Regions from separate parts of the Homo sapiens genome. Here region 2 is linked to region 1. The links are contacts of gene promoters, found by promoter capture Hi-C in blood cells and fetal thymus (Javierre and others, 2016). All regions are on one chromosome and are shown on one strand. The core of a region is centred on a gene start or on the middle of the fragment in contact, and the rest is flanking DNA. Distances in the headings are between cores, read along the strand shown.

The links. The method cuts DNA at HindIII sites, captures the fragments that hold promoters and counts their contacts. A CHiCAGO score of 5 or more calls a contact.
Region 2: the fragment with the promoter of LINC00661 here is called in contact with the fragment with the promoter of CIB3 in region 1 in 1 of 17 cell types (endothelial precursors); the score reaches 5.3 in endothelial precursors.

Annotation. Positions count from the first base shown.
Region 1 is chr19:16,172,134-16,178,655 of GRCh38, reverse strand. It overlaps CIB3 (calcium and integrin binding family member 3), which reads left to right and starts at 5,131. Exons shown (of 6, transcript NM_054113.4): 1 at 5,131-5,231; 2 at 5,460-5,494. The coding sequence starts at 5,181. The HindIII fragment of the contact is 19,742 bases long and covers 1-6,522 here.
Region 2 is chr19:16,012,979-16,019,387 of GRCh38, reverse strand. It overlaps LINC00661 (long intergenic non-protein coding RNA 661), which reads right to left and starts at 3,754. Exons shown (of 9, transcript NR_026828.1): 1 at 3,599-3,754; 2 at 776-847. LOC105372291 (a long non-coding RNA gene) reads left to right here and starts at 4,332. Exons shown (of 2, transcript XR_936355.1): 1 at 4,332-4,417; 2 at 5,003-5,252. The HindIII fragment of the contact is 12,039 bases long and covers 1-6,409 here.

The DNA.
Region 1 (6,522 bases), core at 3,882-6,381:
GTTTTGGTTTGGTTTGGTTTTTTTGAGACGGAGTCTCACTCTGTCACCCAGGCTGGAGTGCCGTGGCGCGATCTCAGCTCACCATAACCTCCGCCTCCTGGGTTCAAGTGATTCTCCTGCTTCAGCCTCCAGAGTAGCTAGGATTACAGGCATGTGCCACTACGCCTGGCTCGTTTATATATTTTTAGTAGAGACAGGGTTTCTCCGTGTTGGCCAGGTTGGTCTCGAACTCCTGACCTCAGGTGATCCACCCACCTTGGCCTCCCAAAATGCTGGGATTACAGGTGTGAGCCACCTCGCCTGGCCAAAATTAATTTTTCTATGTCAGGCTGGGTGTAAATTTTCTATGCCAGGCTGACTCACACCTGGCCTGGTGTGCAATCCAAACACTTTGGGAGGCTGAGGCAAGAGGATCACTTGAGCCCAAAAGTTTGAGAACAGCTTGAGCAACATATTGAGACCTCATCTCTACAAAAAATACAAAAAATGCAGATCACGAGGTCAGGAGATCGAGACCATCCTGGCTAACACGGTGAAACCCCATCTCTGCTAAAAATATAAAAAATTAGCCGGGTGTGGTGGTGGGCGCCTGTAGTCCTAGCTACTCGGGAGGCTGAGGCAGGAGAATGGTGGGAACCTGGGAGGCGGAGCTTGCAGTGAGCAGAGATTGCGCCACTGCACTCCAGCCTGGGCGACAGAGCGAGACTCTGTCTCAAGAAATAAATAAATAAATAAATAAATAAATTAATTAATTAATTAATTAAAATATAAAAGTAAATAAAAAACTGAAAATAGTAACTGCTGGAGAAGATGTGAAATAACTAGAACCTACAAACACTGATGGTGAGAAAGCAAACTAGTGCAGCCTCTTTAGGAAGAAGTTTGGCAAGTTTCTTATATACTGAATATGAGCCATTAATCCTACCCCTCGATATTTACCCAAGTGGAATAAAAAAAAAATACAAAAAATTAGCGAGTGCGGTGGCACCTGCCTGTGGTCCCAGCTACTTAGGAGGGTGAGGTGGGAGGATCAGTTGAGCTCAGAAGGTAGAGACGAGTCTGAACGACATGGTGAGATCCCATCTCTACAAAAATTTAAAAAATTAGCCAGGTGTGGTGGTGTGCACATTTCATGTAAATAGAATCACACTATATGGGACTGTTCATCTCTAGCTTCTTTCACTCAACATAATGTTTTTGTTTTCTTCTTTTCTCTTTTTTGCAAAAGTTACCTTGATCAGCATAATGTTTTTATTTGGGTTGTCTTTCTAGTTTTGAGATGTAAGAGTTCTTAGTTTTTATCGTGGGTTTTGTTTTTTGGTTTTTTTCGAGATAGAGTCTCGCTCTTGTTGCCCAGGCTGGAGTGCAGTGGCACGATCTCAGCTCACTGCAACCTCCCCCTCCCAGGTTCAAGCGATTTTCCTGTCTCAGCCTCCCGAGTAGCTGGGATTACAGGCGCCCACCACCACACCTGGCTAATTTTTTGTATTTTTAGTAGAGACAGGGTTTCACTATGTTGGCCAGGCTGGTCTCTAACTCCTGACCTCAGGTGATCCACCCACCTCATTCTCCCAAAGTGCTGGGATTACAGGCGTGCGCCCGGCCCTGAGAGTTCTTTATATATTCTGAATAGTAGTTCCTTATGAGATATATGATTCACAAATACAGTTAGCCCTTCATATCCAGTTTCCTTATCCATGGATTCAATAAACCACGGAGTGAAAATACCTGGAACCAATAAAATAAAAATAATACAACAATAAAAAGAATACAAATAAAAATGTGTAACAATTATTTATGTAGCATTTATATTTCATTAGATATTATACATAATTTAGAGATAATTTAAAGTCTATGGAGGGCCGGGCATGGTGGCCCATGTAATCCCAGCATTTTGAGAGGCCAAGGTGGGCCGGATCACTTGAGGTCAGGAGTTTGTGACCAGCCTGGCCAACATGGCAAAACCCCGTCTCTACTAAAAATATAAAAATTAGCTGGACACAGTGGTGTGCACCTGTAATCCCAGCTACTAGGGAGGCTGAGGCAGGAGAATTGCTTGAACCTAGGAGGCAGAGGTTGCAGTGGGCTGAGATTACGCCACTGCACTCCAGCCTGGGTGACAGAGCCAGACTCCAACTCGAAAAAGTAAAATAAAAATAAATAAATAAATAAATAAAGTGTATGGAAGATGTGCACAGGCTATATGCAAATATTATGCCATTTTATATAAATGACTTGAGCACTGAGCATTTGTCCCATTCTGTGGGCATGACAGGTTTTTGTGTGAACCTAGTTTAAATTTTTTTTTTACACTATACTTTATTTTTTTAGAGCAGTCTTAGTTTCACAGCAAAATTGATCAGAAGGTACAGAGATTTCCCGTACACCTGCTGCTTTCATACTTGTATAGCTTCCCCTACAATCAACATCCTCCACATGCAAGTGCATGACAGTAGCTAGTCTGTTACAATTGATGAACTGACACTGATACATCATTATCACCCACAGTGGTTAGTGGATAGTTTACATTAGGGGTCACTCTCAGTTGAACATAGGTTTTTATTTCCCTTGGGTAAACACCCAGGAGTCTTTTTTTTTTTTTTTTTTTGAGACAGGATCTCACTCTGTCTCCCAGGCTGGAGTGCAGTACAGTGGAGTGATCATAGCTCACTTCATCCTCGACCTCCCTACCTCAAGCAAACCTCCCAAGTAGCTGGATACCACCAAACCTGGCTAATTTTTGTATTTTTGTAGAGATGGGGCTTCACCATGTTGCCTAGGCTGGTCTCCAACTCCTGGGCTAAAGTGGTCCTCTTGCCTTGGCCTCCCAAAGTGCTGGGATTACAGGCATGAGCCACCATACCAGGCCCTGAATCTTGTGGTAAGGTTAAGTTTAATTCTATTTAAAAAAAACCCAGCCAACCTATTTTCCAGAGTGTCTATACCATTTTGCATCAACACCAGCAATGTATGAGCATTCCAGTTGCTCCATACCCTCACCAACACTTGATATTGTTTATTTTTTGAAAGTTATTCTTGGATGGCTGGGCATGGTGGTTCATGCCTGTAATCCCAGCACTTTGGGAGGCTAAGGTGGGTAGATCACTTGAGGCCAGGTGTTCAAGACCAGCCTGGGCAACATAGACAGACCCTGTCTCCACAAAAAATACAAAAAAAAAAAAATTAGCCGGATGTGGCAGCATGTGCCTCTAGTGCCAGCTACCTGGGAGGCTGAGGAAGGAGGGTCGCTGCAGTGAGCCATGATTGTATCACTGCTCTCCAGCCTGGGTGACAGAGTGAGACCCTGTCTCAAAAAAAAAAAAAAGTCATCCTTGAGGCATCTTTCAAGCCTGATCAGGGTCACATTTTACAAGATGACTGCACAGATTTGGCAGAGGATGCTTGATGAGGCCGAGGCAGGAAAGCCTGCTGGGAAACATTGCAATAGTCCAGGCCAGGTAGAGAAAACACAGGTGAGACCCAAAGTGAGAAGGGCATGGAGGGCCAGGCTAAGAAATTTAGACTCTCAGATTCTCCACCCAAGAGGATTCTGGGCCTTAATAAAGTTGGTAGCTGCTACATTAGATCTGCCCTTTGGGCCGGGCGAGGTGGCTCACACATGTAATTCCAGCACTTTGGGAGGCCGAGGCGGGTGGATCACCTGAGGTCAGGAGTTCGAGACCAGCCTGGCCAACATAGTGAAACTCTGTCTCTACTAAAAATACAAAACTTAGCCAGGCGTGGTGGTGGGCGCCTGTAATAATCCCAGCTACTCGGGAGGCTGAGGCAGGAGAATGGCCTGAACTCGGGAGGTGGAGCTTGCAGTGAGCCGAGATCACGCCACTGCACCCTAGACTGGGTGACAGAGCGAGACTCCGTCTCAAAAAAAAAAAATACAAAAAAAATTAGCTTGGCATGGTGGACACCTGTGGTCCCAGCTACCTGGGATGCTGAGGCAGGAGAATCACTTGAACCTGGGAGGCAGAGATTGCAGTGAACCGAGATCACACCACTGCACTCCAGCCTGGGCAACAGAGTGAGACTGTCTCAAAAAAATAAAATGTAATAAAATAATAATGTCAATGCACACCCCAGAACTTCATCTAGCTTGTTCACCATTATGTTCCCAATGCAGTGATGCAATCATGGCTCACTGCAGCCTCAAACTCCTGGGCTCAAGCAATCCTCCCACCTCAGCCTCCTGAGTAGCTGGGACCACAGGCATGCACCACCACATCCAGCTAATTTTTGTATTTTTAGTAGAGATAGGGCCTTGCCATGCTGCCCAAGCTGATCTTGAACTCCTGGCCTCAAGTGAATCTCATGCTTTGTCCTCCTAAAGTGCTGGGATTACAGGTATGAGCCACCTCGCCCAGCCAAAACCTTTTTTTTTTTTTTGGAGATGGAGTCTTACTCTGTCACCCAGTCTGGAGTGCAATGGCGGGATCTCGGCTCACTGCAACCTCCACCTCCTGGGTTCAAGCAATTCTCCTGCCTCAGTCTCTGGAGTAGCTGGGATTACAGGCATGTGTCACAATGCCAAGCTAATTTTTGTATTTTTAGTAGAGATGGGGTTTTGCCGTGTTGGCCAGGCTGGTCTTGAACTCCTGACCTCAGGTGATCCGCCTGCCTGGCCCTCCCAAAGTGCTGGGATTACAGGTGTGAGCCACCTTGCCCAGTCAAAACCTTTTTTTTTTTTTTTTAAATCTCAGATCCTGAGAATGACCCTATGAGGTAGGTATAATGTAATTTTCATCTCATGAATGAGGTTCAGAGAAGTCAGGTGACTTGCCCAGGGCCACACAGCTAGTGGGCAGAGAGCTGGGATTTGAGCTGCAGTGTGCCCATAGCCCTTCTGTATACCCTGCCTGTCTCTTGAGTGTGCCCCATAACCCCAGCCTCACCTTGTGGTGGCAGATGTGGCCTCCCCACTGAGGTCTTCTCTGTGACATCCCACAGCCCTTATCCTTACCCATGGACACATTCAGGCTGTTGTCCAGAGAGCCTGGCTGTAATTTGAGTCTCATCAAGCAGGGGGTGATGGCGTAGGTGGGTGGGTGACAGCCAGGGCAGGGAGATTTGCCCAGACACTGGTACACAACAGCCTGGCAACCCGTGTGGCCCCGAGGAAGCTGGGAGCCTTTGGGGTGCATCCCCAAGTCTGGGCTGTGGTTCACACCATGGGCAACAAGCAGACAGTCTTCACACACGAGCAGCTGGAAGCGTATCAGGTAGAGGGGGGCAGGATGGGTCCTCAGTGGGTTTGACAACTTTGGTTCCGTGGTCTGGGAAATGGGAACAGAATGCCTTCATCTGGGTGTACCGTCCGCCTGGGTTCCTGGTTCTGCTCTGTGTGTGGCAGCATCAGGCCATCTGTGTGAGTGTGGGGTGGAGGGAGGAGGCCGTGGGAGGAGGCCCCAGAGGCAGGGTTCGGGTTAAGACAACACCTCTCTCCACAGGACTGCACATTTTTCACAAGGAAGGAGATCATGAGGTCAGTCCAGGGAGGAAGGGAGAGAAGATCTGGAAAAACAACTTTCTATTCATTGCTGGAGGATATTTGCAATTTGGTGTGTGTGTGTGTGTGTGTGTGTGTGTGTGTGTGTGTGTGTGTAAGTAGTCTTTCTTTCTTTCTTTCTCTTTTCTCTCTCTCTCTCCCTCCCTCCCTCCCTTCCTTCCTTCCTTCCTTCTTTTCTTTTTTTTTGAGACAGGGTCTGTCTCTATTGCCTGGGCTGGAGTGCAGTGGTGCAATCATGGCTCATTGCAGGCTCGATCTCCCAAGGTCAGGTGATCCTCCCACCTCAGCCTCTCGAGTAGCTAGGACCACTGGTGCGAGCCACCACATGTACCTCATTTTTGTATTTTTTTATAGAGATGGGGCTCTCACTATGTTGCCCAGGCTGGTCTTAAACCCTTGGGCTCAAGCGATCCCCCTGCCTCAGCCTCCCAAAGTGCTGGGATTACAGGTGTGAGCCACCATGCCCAACTGGTATTTCCAATTTGTTGGGACTCAAATGGGGAAGGGGGGCAGGTGTGGTCAGTGGACAGAGGCAGAGATGGAGAAGCTGACAAGTCACATCTTGTCATACTGTCCCAGTCTCTAGGCTGATGAGCTTGGGCTTTCTCCCAAGGGTGGCAGGGAGCTATGGAGCATGCATGAGCAGGGGAGAGACCATCAGCACGTTAGAAAGATTCTCCTGAGGCTGGGCGCGGTGGCTCATGCCTGTAATCCCAGCACTTTGGGAGGACAAGGTGGGTGGATCACCTGAGGTCAGGAGTTTAAGATCAGCCTGGCCAACATGGTGAAACCCCATCTCTGCTAATAATACAAAAATCAGCTGGGCGAGGTGGTGGGTGCCTGTAATCCCAGCTACTCAAGAGGCTGAGGCAGGAGAATTGCTTGAACCTGGGAGGTGGAGGTTGCAGTGAGCCGAGATCACGCCACTGTGCTCCAGCCTGGGTGACAGAGCTAGACTCTGCCTCAGAAAAACAAAATGAAAGATAAAGATTCTCCTGAGACTG
Region 2 (6,409 bases), core at 2,505-5,004, 160 kb after region 1:
GCCTTCAGCTGCAAGTTCTGCTGCATCCCTGCCCTCACCCTGACATGCCCTGGCTGACACCCTGCCCGTCTTCCCCTCCGCCCTCCCAGGGGTATGGCCCTCACTGCCCCCCACGCCCCTCCCTGTAGGGTGGCTCAGCTGGGCCCCCTGAATCCTCAGAGACCTGCTGGACAACTGCCCACAGGCTGGGCCAGGCACCCCCTTGCCCTGTGGCCACAGCCTGCGGGTCTCACTGGGGCAGGGCCCAGGGTGACAGGGCCAGACCCTCAGGCTGTTCCCTACTCTCATGCTGCCTTTGAGACTGCTCTGCTGAGAGCCTCTCCATCCCCACCTGCTCCCCCAAGATCCCTAGATGAGCCTCGCAGCTCTGGCCTGCTGCAGACCACCTGCAGGGTAGCCAGCTGGCATTCCTACCCTGGAAAGGAGGCTGGCCCAAGCTGGGAAGACGTGTCCTGCCTCAGAGAGGCTTTTCTAAAAACAAAACTCATCCTCTGAGGTGAGTTTGGTGATGGTCGGGCAGCAGGGACAGAGGACTCACTGCAGAATCTCGAGGCGATCGGTAACTTTGTAAGCTGTCCACATCCTTGGGCCCTACAGCGTCCCTGGGACCCAGAGGGGTCCAGAGTGAGGGGGCTGAGGTGAAGGGCTGTGGGGGCACAAAGGCATGGGCAACCAGCTCCCACCCTGCTTCCTAAGGGAGCCCAGGATCCTCCCACCAGGGCACAGTGGGAGAGGCGAGGCCCCACCTCTCTCGAGGGAGCAGCCCGACCTGTACCTGCTCACACTGGGCAATGATGCCCCCTGCTCCTGTGCAAGTAGGGTAGCCACGTCTTCCTCCACGTCCATCCTGTGAGACAACATCGCCCAAAGGCAACGCTGCACCTGAGCGCTTCAGAGAACATCTGAACCGCTCCCGGGGGCTCTGAGACACCGCCGGCCGGGTGAGCCCCATGCCACCACAGCCCTGGGTGAAGACCCAGTGGCCCCATGCCTGCTGGGGTCTCTGGAGTCTCTGCACCTGACAGGGGGACCTGGACACAGAGGCCTGTTGTCCCCAGACGCCCAGAGACAGGCACACACAGGATGAACTGCGTCCACCTGCCAAGGGTGAGGGGCTCCTGATGCGCTATCCTGGGCACCTGGAGGCAGACTGGGGTCAGGGACCAGAGAGCTCCATATGCTCAGCCTCCCAGATCGCTCAGGGACCACCAAGAGGCCCACTTTCCTACAGGGAACAAGACACCTTGTGACTCCTCCATTTCACCCCCATCTCCACTCCTTCTGGCCAGAGAAGCCGCGTCAAGAATAATACCAGCCAAATGGGAGGGTGCTTGGTTTGGGCCAAAGCAGCCTCTGTGCTCACGGAGATGTCTCAGGTGGCGGGATGGTGGATCCCACAGTTCTGAGCTGTCAATACAGGAAGGGGCCTCGTGTTTCCGGATCACCAAGAAAGAATGAGAGAACTCTGGGGACTTGGTTCTGGAGAACCCCAGAGGGACCCCTCCCATGAACAGTCAGGGCAAAGAAAGGGCGAGGCCTCTAGGGGACCAGGCAGAGAAAGGGCCACGTGGGGAAAAGCCCCAGACCTGGCGAAAAGGAGGAATGATCATTACCTTCTGGCCAGCCCTCTGGACCTCCGTCATTTTCCACAACTGCCCAAGGATAGAGGGCTCCCCACCCCACTCCCAGACGAGGGACCCAGTATGTCCAGTGGGTTCCACAGCAACCCCCACTGACTGCACCCGAAGTCTGGGTTGATGAGATCTCCCCCTGTGGGGACCCATCTTAGAGCACAGACTTGGACGGAGGACCACCCTCCACCCCACCCACAGGGGCTCCATCCTGGGGGCTCTTCTAGGGCGAGGCTCAGCTCCACTGGGGTCAGAAACCCCAGGCAGATGTGCAATCCAGAACACGGAGGTCACAGAGGTCAAGGCTTGAGTTCAGCATGGCACAGGCCAGGGCTGAGAGCATGGCCCAGGGCCACGTCTGGGTCTCTGGGCCAGTTACTGCCCCTCTGACCTCAGGCGTCTCACCTATTCAGTGGGTACATTTGAGGAAAGCACCCCTCCACCCCGCCATGGAGTCGCCGTGAGGATGAAGGAGACGACTGTTTGCATGGTCAGCATAGAACGGGCACCCGGTGAGTGCTCATGGATGACCCTCCTCGGGTAGCTGCCACCCACCTGGTTGTGACTGTCCCCAAGTCAGCAGGGGGGAAGAGAGCAGGTCACGCTTTCCTGAGTCTGATCAGGCAGCGGTGCTGAGATGTGCTTCTCACCCAGAAAAGGGTCCTTTCTGCACAACCACTTACAGCACCTCTGTGTCTCCAACTGCTCCATGACACGGAGGTAGGCTGGCGGCACTTGGCACAGTGACAGCATGGGTTCACAGCCTCTGTCATGACGGGGCCCTACCTGGCTCAGCAGGGCCCAGGGTCAGCGTCCTCTGCCCGCTTAATGGTCAACATGTATGCGTGCAATTTGTCTGTGTATGTGAGGATGCATGTGTGTGGGTGAACACGTCTCTCCTCCAGCTGGGCCTGGCTGCTCCACTCAGGTGTGCACCTGGATCCCTGTCACTGTCACCCCCGGGCCTGTGGCCAGCATCAGAGCACCCATAGGTGCTCCTCAGCCTCTGCTCTTTCCATGCTGGGTGGTCCTGGGGATGCAGATGGGGCAGGGACATAGGGCAAAGGGCAGAGGGCAGAGGGCAGAGGGCAGAAGCCAGGCTTCCCCCTTGGGGTGACTCGCGTAGTGTGTAAAGTGCCAGGTCTGTGTGGCAGGGCTGGATTCAATGCAATGCACCCTCTCACCTCCTCCTCCCAGAAGCCCACTGGGGTGCTGTGACTCACCCCCCACCCCATGGATGGAGGCAATCACGGAGGCTTCGAGGACTAACCCGTGGCCTGAGATCACCCAGGATCCCACTGGCCAGGCTTCCAATGGTTAAGCTCCCACTGAACAGGTCCTAGCTGACCACCCCCACAATGACCAGGTCCCACTGACCAGATGTGGACTGACCAGGTCCTGCTGACTGGGCCCCACAGACCAGGCCCTGGCTCATCAGACACCACTGACAAAGGCCACAATAACAAGGCTGCAACTGACAAGGCCCTCACGGCCCTCACTGACTAGGTCCCAACTGATGGACCCCACCAAATAGATCTCACTAATCAGACCCCCGCTGACCAGGCCCTAACAACTGCTGGACCCCTGCTGGCCAGGCCCCAAATGCTGAACCCCACTCACCAGGCCCCAAAAGCTGAACCCCACTGACTGGGCCCCAAATGCTGGATCCCTGCTGACAGGCCCCAACTATGGGATCCCCACCAACCAGGCGCCAACTGTCAGACCCCTGCCAACCAGGCCCCGGACGCTGGACTCCACTGACCATGTCCCAGCTACTGGACCCCCACTGACCAGGCCCCAACAACTGCTGGACTGCACTGATCAAGCCCAAACTGCCAGACCCCACTGACTGGGCCCCAACTCCTAGACCCCTCCTGACTGAGCCCCAACTGCCAGACCCTTGCCAACCAGGCCTCTTCTTATGAGACCCCTGCTGACCAGACCCCAACTGCTGGGCCCCTGCTTACCAGGCCCCCACATCCACACCTCACTGACTAGGCCTCACTGCTCTGATCCCCGCCGATCAGGCCCCAAATGCCGGGCCCAGATGACCAGGCCTCAACTGCTAGACGGCCCACCAACCAGGCCTCAGCTCCTGGACCCCTGTTGACCAGGCCCCAACTGCCAGACCCCAATGACCAGGCCCCAACTGCCAGAGCCCTGCTGACCAGGTTCCAACTGCTGGATCCCCTTTGACCAGGCCCCAACTGTTGGACCCCCGACAACCAGGTCCCAACTGCCTGATTCCGCCAACCAGGCCCCAACTGGTAGACCCCTGCTGACCAGGTCCCAACTGCGAGACCCATGCAGATGAAGGCCCAGCGTCCAGACCTCACTGCCTAGACCGCACTGATCTGATCCTCACTGACCAGGCCCCAACCGCCAGACCCCACCTACCAGGTCCCAGCTGCTGCATCCCTGCCAAATAACCCCCAGCTGCCGTATCCCCTCTGACCAGGCCCCAACTGCTGGACCCCCTCCAAACAGGCCCCAACTATAAGACCCCGCTGACCAGGCCCCAACTGCCAGACCCCCATGGACGAGGCTGCAACTGCCAGATCTCTGCTCACCAGGCCCCAACTGTGGGACCCCCGCTGGCCAGACCCCAACCATGAGACCCTCGCCAAACACGCCCCAACTACTGGACTCTTGCTGGCCAGGCCCCAACCCCCAGGGCCTAGTCAGTCAGTGAGACCTGACTAGGTCTCACTGATCAGATCCCCGCTGACCTTGCCCCAGCTGCAGACCCCTATTGACTGTGGGCGGAGGATTACCCAGGTGCCGAGGTGAGAGACTGAAGACACAAACTGTTTCAGTATAATAAAGAAAATAGTTAGAATAAGAATAGTCATAATACAAATTAGATATAGAGATGATCATGGACAATTATCAATCATTATTATAAACATTATTAATCATTAGCTTTTAATATTACTCTTTGTTGCGTTACTAACATAACCTAGGAATAACTGGCGGGTAGAGGGTCAGGTGCTGAAGGGACATTGTTAGAAGTGACCTAGAAGGCAAGAGGTGAGCCCTCTGTCAACGCGTGCATAAGGGCAGCTTGAGGGCTCCTTGGTCAAGCGGTAACGCCAGTGTCTGGGAAGGCGCCCGTTACTTAGCAGACTGCGAAAGGGAGTCTCCTTTCCTTGGAGGAGTCAGGGAACACTGCTCCACCAGCTTCTTGTGGAAGGCTGGATATTATCTAGGCCTGCCGCAGTCATCCGGAGGCCTAAACCCCTCCTTGTGGTGCTGTGCTCCAATGGTCACTTTCATGTTCCTCCCGTACTCCTGGTTCCTCTTTGAAATTTGTAGTAGATAGCGGTAGAAGGAATAGTGAAAGTCTTACAGTCTTTGATCTTTCTTGTAAGTGCATAGAAGAAAACGCTGACGTATGCTGCCTTCTCTCTCTCTGCTTCGGCTACCTAAGAGGGAAGGGCCCCCTGTGCTGTGATCACGTGACTTGCTTCACCTTGTCAATCACTTAGAAGATTCACCCTCCTGACCCTACGCCCCTTGTCTTGTATGCAATAAATATCAGTGTGCCCAGCCATTCAGGGCCACTACTGGTCTCCGCGTCTTGATGGTAGTGGTCCCTCGGGCCCAGCTGTTTTCTCTTTATCTCTTGGTCTTGTGTCTTTATTTCTTACGCTCTCTCGTCTCTGCACACGGGGAGAACACCCGCTAAGTCCCGTAGGGCTGGACCCTCCAATCAACCAGGTCCCAACTGCTGGACCCCACTGACCAGGCCCCAGGAACTGCCGGCCGCCTGCTGACCAGGCCCCACTGGTCCGATCCCCACTGAGCAGTCCCCTGCTGATCAAACCCCACTGACCAGATTTTCCATGACCTGACCCTCATTGAATGGATCCCGTTAAGCCGACCACAATGACCATGTCCTCACTGACCAACACCCCCGTGAGTAGGCCCCCCCACTGACTAGGCTTCTGATGACCAGGCCCACACTGCCAGGGCCCCACTGACCAGACCACATGACATGGCCCCACAGACCAGGCCCCACTGACCCAAACCACTGACTGGTCCCAACTGGCCAGGAGCTCAATGACAAGGTCACTGCCAACAGTGCCCCTTACAACCAGGCCTCCACTGACCAGGGCCCCACTGAGTAGGCCCCACTGGGGAGTCCTTCGGTGGCACCGCATTAGCTGACCACACCCCTGACAACCAGGTCTCTGCTGACATGGTCCCCACAGAACACGTCCCCATTGACCAGGTCCCAAATAACCAAATCCCATGGACCGGGATCTGCTGACTAGGCCACACTGACATGCTTCCAATGGTGAGACCTTCGCTGACTGAGCAGGACCACACCGCCAGGCCTCAGCTGACTAGACCACAATGACGAGGTTTCCACTGACCAGGTGCTAACCGCCCAACCCCTACTAACGAGGCTCTACTTTTCAGATCCCGCTGACCAGACCCCCAGTGACCAGGCCCCTACTGAACAAAATACCACTCCCTACACCCCCACTGACTAGGTTTTTTGTTGTTTGTTTTTGAGATGGAGGCTGCCTCTGTCACCCATGTTGGAGTACAGTGGTGTGATCTTGGCTCACTGCAACCTCCACTTCCTGATTAGGTTCAAGTGATTCTCCTGCCTCAGCCTCCCGAGTAGCTGGGACGACAGGCACATGCCACCACGCCTGGCTATTTTTTGTATTCTTAGTAGAGGTGGGGTTTCACCATGTTGGCCAGACTGGTGTCAAACTCCTGACCTCAGGTGATCTACCCACCTCGGCCTCCCAAAGTGCTGGAAT